Linked DNA regions of Homo sapiens: all the other regions are linked to region 3. The links are contacts of gene promoters, found by promoter capture Hi-C in blood cells and fetal thymus (Javierre and others, 2016). All regions are on one chromosome and are shown on one strand. Each heading gives the region's core, a stretch centred on a gene start or on the middle of the fragment in contact. The rest is flanking DNA. Distances are from core to core; before and after follow the strand shown.

Region 1 (3,843 bases), core at 1,321-3,820, 570 kb before region 3:
AGGGAGGCCTGCCCTCCCGGCCACACCTTAGGAGCCTGTAATGCGGGGCATCCCCGAAGCCTGAGGACTCTCAGAAAGTGGGGCCTGCAGGATCCTGACCCCTTCAGGGCGGGGCTGCCTATGCTTCTGGCCAGCATCTGTAGTTGGCATGTCCTGGCTGGGAATGGAGGACAGTAAGACAGTCTGCCTGTGGCAGCTCTGGAAAGAAAGGCAGAGAGGTGGCCAGGGCGGTCCCCCAGGTGCTGCCCTCTGTGTGAAGGGCCAGGGAGGGTCATCTGGGAACCAAAGACTTGGGATGCGCAGGGTCAGGGCCCTCAGACCCACAGGCCCCCAAGGAAGGGCAGGCATGGGTCCCCATCGCCATCCATGGCCCTCCCAGCCCTCCCTGGGCTACTCAAGTTGCGTCTGTGTCTGCAGGCCAGTGGCACGTCTTCCGGAAGTGCCTGCCCTTGCCCACGCTGAGCCTGCCTGGGAACCCACCTGCTGCCGCACCTATGCCCACGCAGCACCCCCTCTCTGAACTCGGTCCGAGCAGCTGCCTGATTCTAGGTTGGATCATGGTGGGACCCAGGACGCCTCTCCGTCCTCACGGGCCCCAGGTCATGGGACCTGGTGTCACAGTGTGCGGTGCCAGTGCCACTCCCAGGCTGCATGGGAGGAACCTCCAGTGTTCCTAACTACGTGCAAAGGGCTCTAATCTCTGCGTTTCTTCCCTTTCTTCCCAGGGACTGTTCATATTCCTCTTTCATTGTCTCCTGAATTCAGAGGTACGTCCGCTCTGCTTGCTGGCAGGTGCAGGTGCAGCTGGCTTTTCCTTTCCGAAAGGTCACAGGAGCAGGAACAGCGCTGCCCTGTCAGGGTGGTGTCTGGGACTCAAATCCTGAGCCAGCCACGTTCCTGATGCCAAGTTGTGTGCCCTGGGGCCTGCTGCTGAGCAGCTCTTCTCTCCCCGCCTAGTTGCTAAGCGATATGCAAGCATCCTCTCTCCCTGGAGAATTGGCGACTGCATCTTAGGGAGAGTGAGATGTAGGCGTGCTCCCCACAGTCCTCCTCGAGGGCCTTGGGGAAGCTGGCCTGGCTGTGAGAAGGAGGACTTCTGTCCACGGGAGCTGGGAAGAGGAGTTTTGTGATGTGGCCTCCTTGGACTCTGGGGCAGCCAGCGCAGGCTTATTCTTTCGGTGCTGCTCTGGGCCTGGCACCTGCCATGTACTTGGCTGGGGGGAGGTAGGGGCTGCCCCAAGGACTTCTGTTCCTGTGGGAGAACTTTTCCCAAGTCAGCTTTGAGCCCCTACCAGGCTGAGGTTGTGGGAGCTGCCTTGGGATGGGGAATGGGCCCAGGGCAGAGGGGCCGTCCTGCCCGGTCCATCTCAGTGGCGGTGTCCGTTTGCAAGGACAGGCCAGGTGGGCCAAGGAGGGCAGAGCAGAGTCGCTGAGCAGGATGGTGGCCGGGCAGAAGGGCTGCATGATCACAAAGCCCAGTGACCCCTTGATCGCAACGCCCAGTGACCCCTTGCAAGGCCTGAGGTGGATCCCGGTGGCAGGAAGGCAGTGCAGCCATGGAAGCCCGCCCGCCCACCCGCCTGCCTGCCCACCACGCATTTGTTTATTTGCTTCTCTCTCACACTCACCCCGGGACATTCATTGCTGAGTGTGAGGAGCCCAGCAGAGGCCACTCCACACCCAGCTTCCCTGGCCTGCGATACAACCTGGCTCTGCCCCACAGAGCAGCGATGCACAGCTCAGCTGTGGAGCCAGCAGCTCCGACTCATATTTCCAAATCCCAACCTCCCTCGCACATCTGGTTCCGGAGTTGCACCGGCACAGACTCCTCTGGTTACGGCTGTTGCAGCCTCTGAAATTGCTCTCACGATCCCTTCCCCGCTTTCAAGGTGAGAGCCGCCTTCAAGCACAAAACCAAGGTCTGGTCGCTCACGAGCAGCTCTGCCCGCACCTCCAACGCGAAGCCCTTCCACTCGGACCTCGTGAGTGCAGCCTCCATAAACCGAGGGTCCCAGCCCATCCTCCTTCCCCAGGCTCGGTTGTCAGCAGGATGGGGTGTGCAGGCAGCAGAGGTGGCTTCGGGTGCCCAGCAGTCTTTGTCCCCCTCTCATGCCTGCAGGCTGCACGTGCTCTGGGCTTGTGTCCCCCACACAGTGCCCTGTGTCCTGATGAAGTCACCACAGCCCTACCCCTTGACCCCGAAGAGTCAGGGCTTCTTGTGTTCACTTAGGGATGGAAGGACTTAGAGATCAACTGACCGTGAGGTGGCCCATCCCCGCCGCCCTCCAGAGCCCAGGCAGGCCCCCAGGCAGTCTGGAGCAGGCCCTGTTAGGGTTCTCACTGTGCCGCTGCTTCCCCCCTGCTGGAGCCCTGCTCAGGTGTCCCATCCTCAGGAAGTCCTTCCCCGCACACGGTGCTCAATGAAGGCGCTCCCACCCATTCTCGCACTCCGCCCCCGCCCGCAGCTGTGTGATTTTCCATTTGCTTAGGGACCACGTCTGCCCTGCTCCATGGGAGCTGGCTGGCTCATGGGCTGCTCTAGCCCCACGGCTACAGCTGCGCCGGGTGTGTGGCACGCTCCATGAGTCACCGTGGAATGAACGCAGCGTGGACAGATGCATGGGGGTGAAAGCGTGGGTGCCGGGCAGATGGGTGAGCAGAGGAGGGAGTGAGCGCTCAGCACAGCACGCCTGCAGTGCCCTTAAGGGGAGTCAGCGTGGAGAACCGTGCGGCTGGAGACGCCACAGTGCGCACATCCTCATCTCCCCCAGGAGCATGGGGGCTCCCTTCTCTCTGCACCTTTCCTCCCGCAGGGAGAATCCTCGGGCAGCTATGGGCCCAATGCTCCCCGCACTCACTGGGCTTATGGCTCTCCCCCTGGGAGCAGGCCCTTCACTGCTCATCCCTTTATGCTTTGCAGATGAATGGGACCCGGCCAGGCATGGCCTCCACCAAGCTCAGCCCTTGGGACAAGAGCAGCCACTCTGCCCACCGCGTCGACCTGTCAGCCGTGTGAGCCGGGAGGCTGCCAACCAGGCCAGGCTGCGCTCAGAACACACCCCCCCAAACAGAATGAAATGCCCCACCTTTGCCCATGGACCCTCTCCTTGCTGCTGTCTGGACATGGGTGTTGTGGCCCCGAGACAGCTGTCCTCCCCTGTGACTCTGGCTGTCGGAGCACACTGCTCAGCCCAGCAGCCTGATGCCCAGGCCAGCGTGGGCCCTCCTGCCTTGCATCCACCCGTGGGCTGAGTGACTTCCTCGGGGGATTCCCAGGACACAGTGGCCTGACTGTGATGGTGCCCTTGAGCCTCCCTTCATCACTCAGCATCAGACCCAGCGAGGCCAGGACACTCGGGGCCGGTCCCGCAGCACCAGGAGGGGATGTTCAGCCTCTGTGCCTTGGTGGGGCTTGGGGACTCAGGGCCAAAGAGGTGGTTCAGGTCCCCACGCACCCTCAGTCAGGCGCAGGCAGCTGGGGGTGTGTGGGGAAGAGCATGCGGAGTCCCCAGTGTCTGAATCCACTGAGTGGTGAGTTCCCCACAGCCGGCGCTAGCCGTGGTGTGTGTCTCTGTAGGTGGTGCCGGCGTGGGCCAACCTGTGCTGTGTCATCAGTTGGGGGCCCCTGCCCAAGCCGAGCTCGAGCCGTGGGCGGGAGTCGTTGACTCTCCAGGTGAGGGCGACCCCTCTGCCCTGTCCTTGGGGGGGTCCCCTCTGCTCACGTGAAGAGCCGCTCTGGGCCTTGAGGCTGCCTGATGGTGCCTGTGCTTGGGGGAGCTTCTCGGCCATCCGCTGTGAGTTTTGCCTCTTTGGACCCCAATTCGGCCTTAAGATGCCCTCCTC
Region 2 (3,931 bases), core at 350-2,849, 610 kb before region 3:
ATTTAACACAGGTTGCAGGGTTAAGTAATACAATGACAAATCCATGGCTGAATGTGTGTTACAACTAGAAAGTCCCTGTAGTAAAGAGAAGGCAGTGAGCCACTATCAGGATCACCTAGATTGTCACCTTCTGCCTCAGTCCACTCTGTGGACTTGAAAGCTGTGTTGAAGCAGTGAGGTTTGCAGACCCTGACGTGTGCATGCCATTTCTTCTTGATCCCTCCTGAAGTCGGCCTCATTATTCAGACCATTGTGTGGAAGAAGAATGTATAACGTTACATGCAGAAGCCATGGAGACTCCAGTTTATGGGAGATCTCAGGAGTTTTCAAAGGTCATTTTGATCATCTATCATTTTTACCTATGGGCTCACCTTATAACTCAAGCACCATGTACCATGTGACCCTCCAATATGTCTGGCCTTATGTTTCTTACAATCATTTCAAGGCTGCCTGGTCAGGCTATTAGCTCAGTTCAAGGGAAGAGCCATATGTCTTTCTTTTTAGTACTCCCCATTGTGCCTGGCATGATGCTGGCTTTGGGTGGGTTTGATAAAAGTACATGATAAAGAGACTTGATTGATGGTGGGGTTGGTTCATGGTGGGGTTGGTTGATGGTGAGGTTTGCTGGTGGTAAGTTTGGTTGAAGATAGGGTTGGTTGACAGTAGGTTGGTTGAGGGTAGGATTGGCTGAAGATAAAGTTGGTTGATGATGGGTTGGTTGATGATGGGTTTGATTGATAATCAGGTTGATTGATAGGTTGGTTTATGATGCATTTGGTTAATGGGTTGGTTAATGGTTAGGTTAGTTGGTAGTGGGTTGGTTGAAGGTGAGTTTATGATGAGTTTGGTTGATGATGCGTCAGTTGATGGTAGAGTTGGTTGATAGTGGATTACTTGAAGGTAAGGTTGGTTGATGGTGGGTTTGGCTGATGGTGGAATTGGCTGGTAGATTGGTTGATGATGGGTTGGTTGATGGCAAGGTTGGTTCATGGTCGGTTTGGTTGATGTTCAGGTTGGTTGATGGTGAAGTTGGTTGATGATGGGTTGGTTGTTGGTAAGGTCAGTTGATGGTGGAGTTGGTTGATGATGGGTTGGTTGATGTTAAGGTTGGTTGATGGTGGAGTTGGTTTATAGTCAGATTAGCTGATGATGCATTGTTTGAACGTAAGGTTGGTTGATGGTAGGCTTGGTTAATGGTAAGGTTGATTGATGATGGGTTGGTTGATGGTGGGTTGATTGATAATGGGTTGGTTGATGGCATGGTTGGTTGGCGATAAGGTTGATCGATAATATGGTTGGAAGGCTTAAGGCATAAGTGGGTAGGTGTGGGTCTGGGGCTAGGGCTAGACTCCCATTTGTCAGAAACTCCCAGTAGAATGGGTGGCCAAGAACGGAGATTAAGATGTTTTAGAGAGTTGGCTGACCAACTGCAGCCCAGTGTGCAGCGAACTCTCATGTCAGCCCACTGGAACCTCACTGCATTTGCAAATAGATGAGCTAAAGCTTTATTTTCTCAATTTAAAAGATATTAATCAGTGATGTAGATTTAGGAAATCTGTCTGTTGAATCAGTGGCAGAGTCAGATGGGTAGATGTGAGGGCTCTTTCTCCCCTGACGCCTTCAGCAAATACCTCTGGTTACCATTGTTCCCAGTACTGCTCACTGCTGTTCTTAGAGCTGCGAGATGAGGTAGGAAAAGCTTCCCTAATGCATCCTCAGGGCTTCCCGTGTCCCTGGGGGAGAGACGATGCCCCATGAAATGCAGCTATGGTGTCCGAGAGTGATATGCATCCCTCTGGTGGGACATGAGATGACTTGGGTAGAGCAGAGATGATCAGGGGTGGGGAGGAGCCAGGGCTTTGTGGGGTGGAGACCTGTGTGGGGTGCATCTCTTGGGGGGCTTCCCAGGGCAGTGGGCCAGGCAGGCTTTTGGACACCACTGCTTTCTTTCCTTTACTAGCAGTGTTTCCACTGATTTTTCTTCTTTTCTTTCTTTTATTTTTTTTCTTTTTCTTTCTTTCTTTTTTTTTTTTTTTTTTTTTTTTTTTGAGATGGAGTCTGGCTCTGTCGCCCAGGCTGGAGTGCAAGTGGCACGATTTCGGCTCACTGCAACCTTCACCTCCCGGGTTCAAGTGATTCTCCTGCCTCAGCCTCCTGAGTAGCTGGGATTACAGGTGTGGGCCATCATGTCTGGCTAATTTTTGTATTTTTAGGAGAGACGGGATTTCACCATGTTGGCCAGACTGGTCTCAAACTCCTCGCCTCAGGTGATCTGCCCGCCTCGGCCTCCCAGAGTGATTACAGGCGTGAGCCACTGTGTCTGGCCTCCATTGGTTTTTAACTGAATTCAGTTTGGTAACTGCTGAAGAGCTGGACGTTCGTTTCCAAGAACCATTCCCTCTGCTGAGGCCCAAAACTCTTGTAACTGACCCTTACTTCCATCTCTAGGCAGAGATCAGTGTGAGAGACAAGACTTTTCAGTTGTCTTAGAAAGATTGCATATCCAGTATAATGTCAGTGTGTCCTGTATTTGGTTTTATTCTTAGTTTCTGAAACATCTCACTTCCTCTAAAACAGCACTTCTTAAACCACATCTCTATTGCTGTCATTGGGTCTCTTCCCTTCCTCCTCCAAAGAGTTTAAGAGATGCCAAGTTGAACATAGCTGAACAGGGGGGTTTATTTTACCTGCAGAATCCTCAGAACTCTTAAGTGGCTTTATATTCATCCAAAAAGTCTTTTAAGGGGTGCAGAGAATGGAGCTTTTTCCAAACTTATCTGAAAGCAGAAACATCATTTCATGGACAATTTGCTAATAATGTCATGCGGAAACTGGAGTGTCACACACTTAGCGTGGGGAATGTGGCCTAGAAACTGAGTTCCCTTCACCCACCGCGGCTATGCGATTAATGGGAGTAGCTCTTGGCCCGTCGGTCTGCAGGTGGAGATGTTTGTTTCCATTGCCGAGAATGCTGCGGTGGGAATGCACTGGCAGCACCCGCCTGTTGAGGAACTTGTTTTGCCAAACATACTCGGCAGGTGACTGATGAGTGCCTACCCCTCCCACAAGGCCCCTTCTGCTGGCAGAAGATGCCTGTGACCTCAGCTCCCACCTGGTGGAGCAGAGATGGGCAGCACTGGGCAGCCTCGGGCCCCCGGGAGGCCCCTGTTCGCCCACAGCGTCCCAGGTGCCCTGGGTGTTGCCAGGCAGCGATAGGGAGTGGGCTCTGGGCAGAGTCGGTGTGAGTTCACCAAAGTCTCCACCTTGAGTTCCTCAAGCCCAGTGCAGGAGAGCCCATGAGGGTCAGGGGAAGCCAAGATGGAGGCACACACCCAGGGGACATCGTGGCACCTGCTGCAGGGAAGCCCACGGGCATGGCTGTGATTCCCAGGGGTCAGAGGTCAACAGCCTGAAGGTCTTCTCAAATATGGGAGGCCAGGCCCAGGAGTTGAAGGAAAAAGGTTTATCCATGGGAGAAGGAGTAGTGGGGCTCTCCTACCCCTAACTGCATGATTCTGCAATAACCAGAAACAAGAACAAGAAACCGCAGCCATTCTCCTGAGGGGACGGGGGCCCCATTTCTTCAAAGTTCCCTCTCATCCTCAGGGATACTGATGGGCTCCCCTGTGACTGCCCCTCCTCTCTCCCTGGGGCATCATGAACCTGGAAGGGGGATTCTTCCGTCTCCCTGGCCCTGGCCACGCAGTGCCCACCTTTCCCGTGATAGCCACAACGTCCGTGGAGAGGGAAGTCCAGCCCCTGGGAAATTGGAAGTTGTGCGCAGGTCCTTGCCTGCTGAGGCCTGAGCCGGCGTTCAGCACAGGTGGCTCTGCCCAGCCCTCAGCCTCTCTGCCTTGTCCCTGAGCCGGAGAGCACAAAAGGGCCCCTCCAGGGGAAATGCTGCTGGTGTCATGGCAACAGCTGTTTCACT
Region 3 (3,873 bases), core at 334-2,833:
CAGAAAAATTACTTGATTGGGTTTTGGTTTGCTTGCATAGGAGCTGGTGTTACAGAGTTGATCTCAAGCTAATGGCCTCCTTATTTGCTTTAGCACCCCACACCTGAACCCAAGGGAAAGCTTGAAGGGAGCCCAGCACCGAAACAAACTAGTAAATGCCTGGGGGCAAACAACAGTGTTTTTATCAAGTAACCATGACACATACATCTTCCTCAGCAGTGGCAGAGCAGTCTTGTAGAGTTAGATAGGAAGATGATGGCCTGGCCACGCATGCTCAGCTGCTGGCCCGGCTCATTCTACAGGTATTAACCAGTATTTGGCCCACAGTGTGCTAAGCACCATTCTAGGTGCTGAGGATGCTAAGGTGACCCCAACAATGTCCCTGATCTCTTAAAGCTAATTCTGGTGGGATGCTGAACACAGGATGTAACCTAAGGTGGTGATGAGAGGTACACAGACAAATCGGAAGGCACAAGTTAGCCACCAGTGAGGGGAAACTCCAGACAACGTAGACACATAAGGCCAGGTGGAGAAATGGATGACTGAGTTAAACTTGGGTAAGGAGCCTGGCAAATGAAGACAGAAGCATGACCCAGTCAGGGGAAACCACAACAAAAGACGTTTGGTGGGAACTGCCTGTTTCTTAATTTCCAAAAATCAGTTAAAGGTTCATATACATTATCTCATTTCAACATCACTGGTAGAAAGATTCCATTTTTATGGAGAGGGGATCTGAGGCCCAGAAAGGAGACGATCTGTCATCGTTTTCCACTCAAGGGCAAACATGGGGATATCCCATCCCATCCCAAAGCCTAAGATTTTGCACTCCAGGCCCTTTGTCTGACCTGAAATTACTGAGCTAAAAGGGACCGAAAGATCCTAATGGAACCACCGATGGGAAAACTGCGGCCCAGGAGGAAACACACCAAGCAAAATTGCACCGTATCCAGGTGGCCAGTCTCCAGACTGGGGTCTCCCTGCCCCGCCAGACCATCTCCCGGCGACAAGGGTCTCAGGTTTCCGAAATCTCGCCACCCGCGAGTGATTTGCAGCGCAGGGGCCTCTGCTGCCTCGGAAACCTTCAAAGGTGGGCGGGTCGGGGACCAAGTCCCCCTAGGGATGGAGAAGGAAACGGGGCCAAGGAAAAGGACATCGCCACCCTGGGCAGAGCACGCACGGCCCCAGCGACTCGGACATGGTGAGGGGCGCGGAGGCTCGGGGTGGACCCGAGGCCTCCACACATGTGGCAGGCTGCAGCAACCCGCCACCCACGAGGACTCGCCCAAGGCCCAGAGCGCGCCGGGCCCCTCCCTCCGACTCCGTCGCCGCCCGACTGGCCGCAGCGGAAGCCGGCGCGCGATCCCACGCTGCGCTTTCGCCACGTCCTGACGGCTGCCCGATAAAACGGACATTAAAATTGCACTTTCCACTGAATACAGCAGCGCCTATTGTGGCGGCACACCTGAATGCGAAAATTAAAGCCAAAATATTTCCTAGCGGCTAAAAGAGCTCCAAGCCTAGGCGAATCTGCCGGTCCGCTCGCCGGAAATGCGGGCTCTCCTGCCGGAAGCTGCCCCTCCACCATTTTGTGGCCCGCTATGGCGGCGGTGTTGAGGTTGGGTACGGGATGCGGGGTCTTTGACTGAAGGGGTAGGCCAAGTGGAGGTATCAGGGACGTCGCGCGGCACAGAAGAGGACCAGCCTGGACGCCGGGGACGCTGTCATGTACGGCGCGAGCGGGGGCCGCGCCAAACCCGAGAGGAAAAGCGGCGCGAAGGAGGAGGCCGGGCCAGGCGGTGCCGGCGGTGGGGGCAGCCGAGTGGAGCTCTTGGTTTTCGGCTATGCCTGCAAGCTGTTCCGGGACGACGAGCGGGCCCTGGCTCAGGAACAGGGACAGCACCTCATCCCCTGGATGGGGGACCACAAGATCCTCATCGACAGGTCGGTTCCTCTCCCCACCCGTCGATCCTTCCCTTCCCTCACCCGCTTGATCTCGTCTGATGTTGACTTGACTGCAAGGACTGCAGAGAGTTTTCTGGAGCCAGCGGGGATCTGGGGGACACCCCCTCCCCTGTCCCCACCTCCTCCTGGTGTTCTGGTGGGGAGGGGGACGGTGAAACCTGCCCTAAGGCACTGGCTGGAATTGCGTGCCGCGTCCGTCTCCGGAGGGATCGTCTCTGGTCCCGCAGCCCCTCTCGACCCCTCACCCTGTCGCTGGGCTGCAGTTGGCGATTCCGCGCGGTGAAAGCAGCCAGTGCCCAGGGTCTTTTCCTGAGTGCACCTGGGCCTGCCGCCCGGCGATGCCATGGGGTCGTGCGCTGCTTTTCTACTTGCCGCGCTCTCACTGCTCGGTGTACTGGGAGGGTACCCTGGGAGGCGTGCCTTTATTCTTCCGAACCGCCGCTCACTGAGACAGTGGCTAGAAGTGTCTCTTGGACCTGTGAGTTAGCCTTAACCTGTTATGCCCCCAGAGCCCTCAGTGGAGCGCCCGTACTTTGCCGGCATGACGTTTGATTTCCCGGTGATAATCCGACGAGTTTGACAGATTGAGGTAGTGAGCAAAGTTGCCCGTCAGTTGGTGGCCACTTGACTTCGTGCGGACCCTGGCCTTGCTCTTGGAAGAGATAGTGTTCTTAGGGCTGGTTTCACTGTCTCTTAAGACTGAAGGGTGGAGCTGGGATATAGATGTGTTGTTTCTTTTCAAATCAAACCTGCTTTAGGTCGTCACTCGAGGGTGTCTAGCGATTATGGGCAGTGGGGGCCTGGGATTAGGGATTTCTAAAGGCGTTTGATTTGAAAAGGATAACATTACATGATGTAGGTGGTTTGCTCCCCTCTTTCTTCCCATTTTTTCAATCCCCCTTCCCCTCGTCTCTGGGTTTTGGGGTTGTTGTGGGGTGGTTTTTTTTCTTTTTTGCCTGTTCGGCTACTTCTGGGGCCCGGACTGAAAAGCTAACCATGACCAACCATTAAACTGTGGAATAGTCTCTCCACGTGAAGAAAGCCCATCGTTTGAGACCATTAAAACTGGATTCTTCATAGCCCTGGAGCATGACTGTAGGGATGACCTCTGAGCTGGCCAGAATGGACACATTAATGACCAAATAGGCCTTTTTCCATCCCTGACGTTTCCTTTTGGAATTAGAGCTCGAAAACGAGAACTGGTGAAGGGAGGGCCGCGGAATCAGATCATGTCTGGATCTGATGGCTCCGTGCTGTGCTCAAGCGTGCTGTGCCTTCACACCATGGTTTATATTGAATGTGTCGCCTGAGTTGTCAGGCTTGCTTTTCCAAAGTGTCACTTGTGTTATTTATCATTAAAGTTTGGTAAGCAATGAAGTCTGAGCTCTTTGTACAGTTTTCCTATCATTCTGTACATGATTTGAGTTAGGTCTTCCAAAACTGGTGGGGAGCAAACGCCGCACATGTACATGTATAATATTTTTAATAATAATCTACATTTGTAAGTTAAGGAGGTTTACATCAAAATCCAATTAATTTTGAAATTTAATGAAATGCAGTAACTTGACTACCTTGGAATTTTGGGCCTTTTTCCTGTAAATGTCTTTTTTGGTCTACATTAATATTTTTGGTTCCCATTACAAAAGTCAGCATTAAAAAAATAAGCAGACTTTTGTTTGTTTCTCTACATTTGTTTTTGAAACCCTAAACCTGAGTGTTTTAAGTAAAGTTCACTAACTCATTCATTTATTATCTGACAGTTACACGTTGACAGCATCCTCATTGAATCCTTTATGTTAAAAGCATAGCAGAAAGTGCTCCCATTACTTATTTGGCCAAACTACTGTTTGGTCCATGCAAGAGAAACATGGAAGTGTCTTCATGTATGTTATTTCCTTGAGGGTATAAAGT

What was found. The method cuts DNA at HindIII sites, captures the fragments that hold promoters and counts their contacts. A CHiCAGO score of 5 or more calls a contact.
Region 1: a fragment that was not itself captured here is called in contact with the fragment with the promoter of SFSWAP in region 3 in 1 of 17 cell types (M2 macrophages); the score reaches 5.2 in M2 macrophages.
Region 2: a contact is called between a fragment that was not itself captured here and the fragment with the promoter of SFSWAP in region 3, in 6 of 17 cell types (megakaryocytes, M2 macrophages, M1 macrophages and 3 more). The highest score is 11.5, in megakaryocytes.

Annotation. Positions count from the first base shown.
Region 1 is chr12:131,136,248-131,140,090 of GRCh38, forward strand. ADGRD1 (adhesion G protein-coupled receptor D1) reads left to right here. Exons shown (of 25, transcript NM_198827.5): 23 at 726-767; 24 at 1,890-1,982; 25 at 2,921-3,843. The coding sequence ends at 3,016. Among named protein-coding and RNA genes, the nearest start is that of LINC01257, 27 kb to the right of the region's middle. The HindIII fragment of the contact is 9,971 bases long and covers 1-3,843 here.
Region 2 is chr12:131,099,357-131,103,287 of GRCh38, forward strand. The region is part of intron 15 of ADGRD1 (adhesion G protein-coupled receptor D1); the gene reads left to right. Among named protein-coding and RNA genes, the nearest start is that of LINC01257, 64 kb to the right of the region's middle. The HindIII fragment of the contact is 196 bases long and covers 1,502-1,697 here.
Region 3 is chr12:131,709,507-131,713,379 of GRCh38, forward strand. SFSWAP (splicing factor SWAP) reads left to right here and starts at 1,584. Exons shown (of 18, transcript NM_004592.4): 1 at 1,584-1,941. The coding sequence starts at 1,724. RefSeq lists enhancers at 1,139-1,228, 1,369-1,658, 1,749-1,818. The HindIII fragment of the contact is 11,852 bases long and covers 119-3,873 here.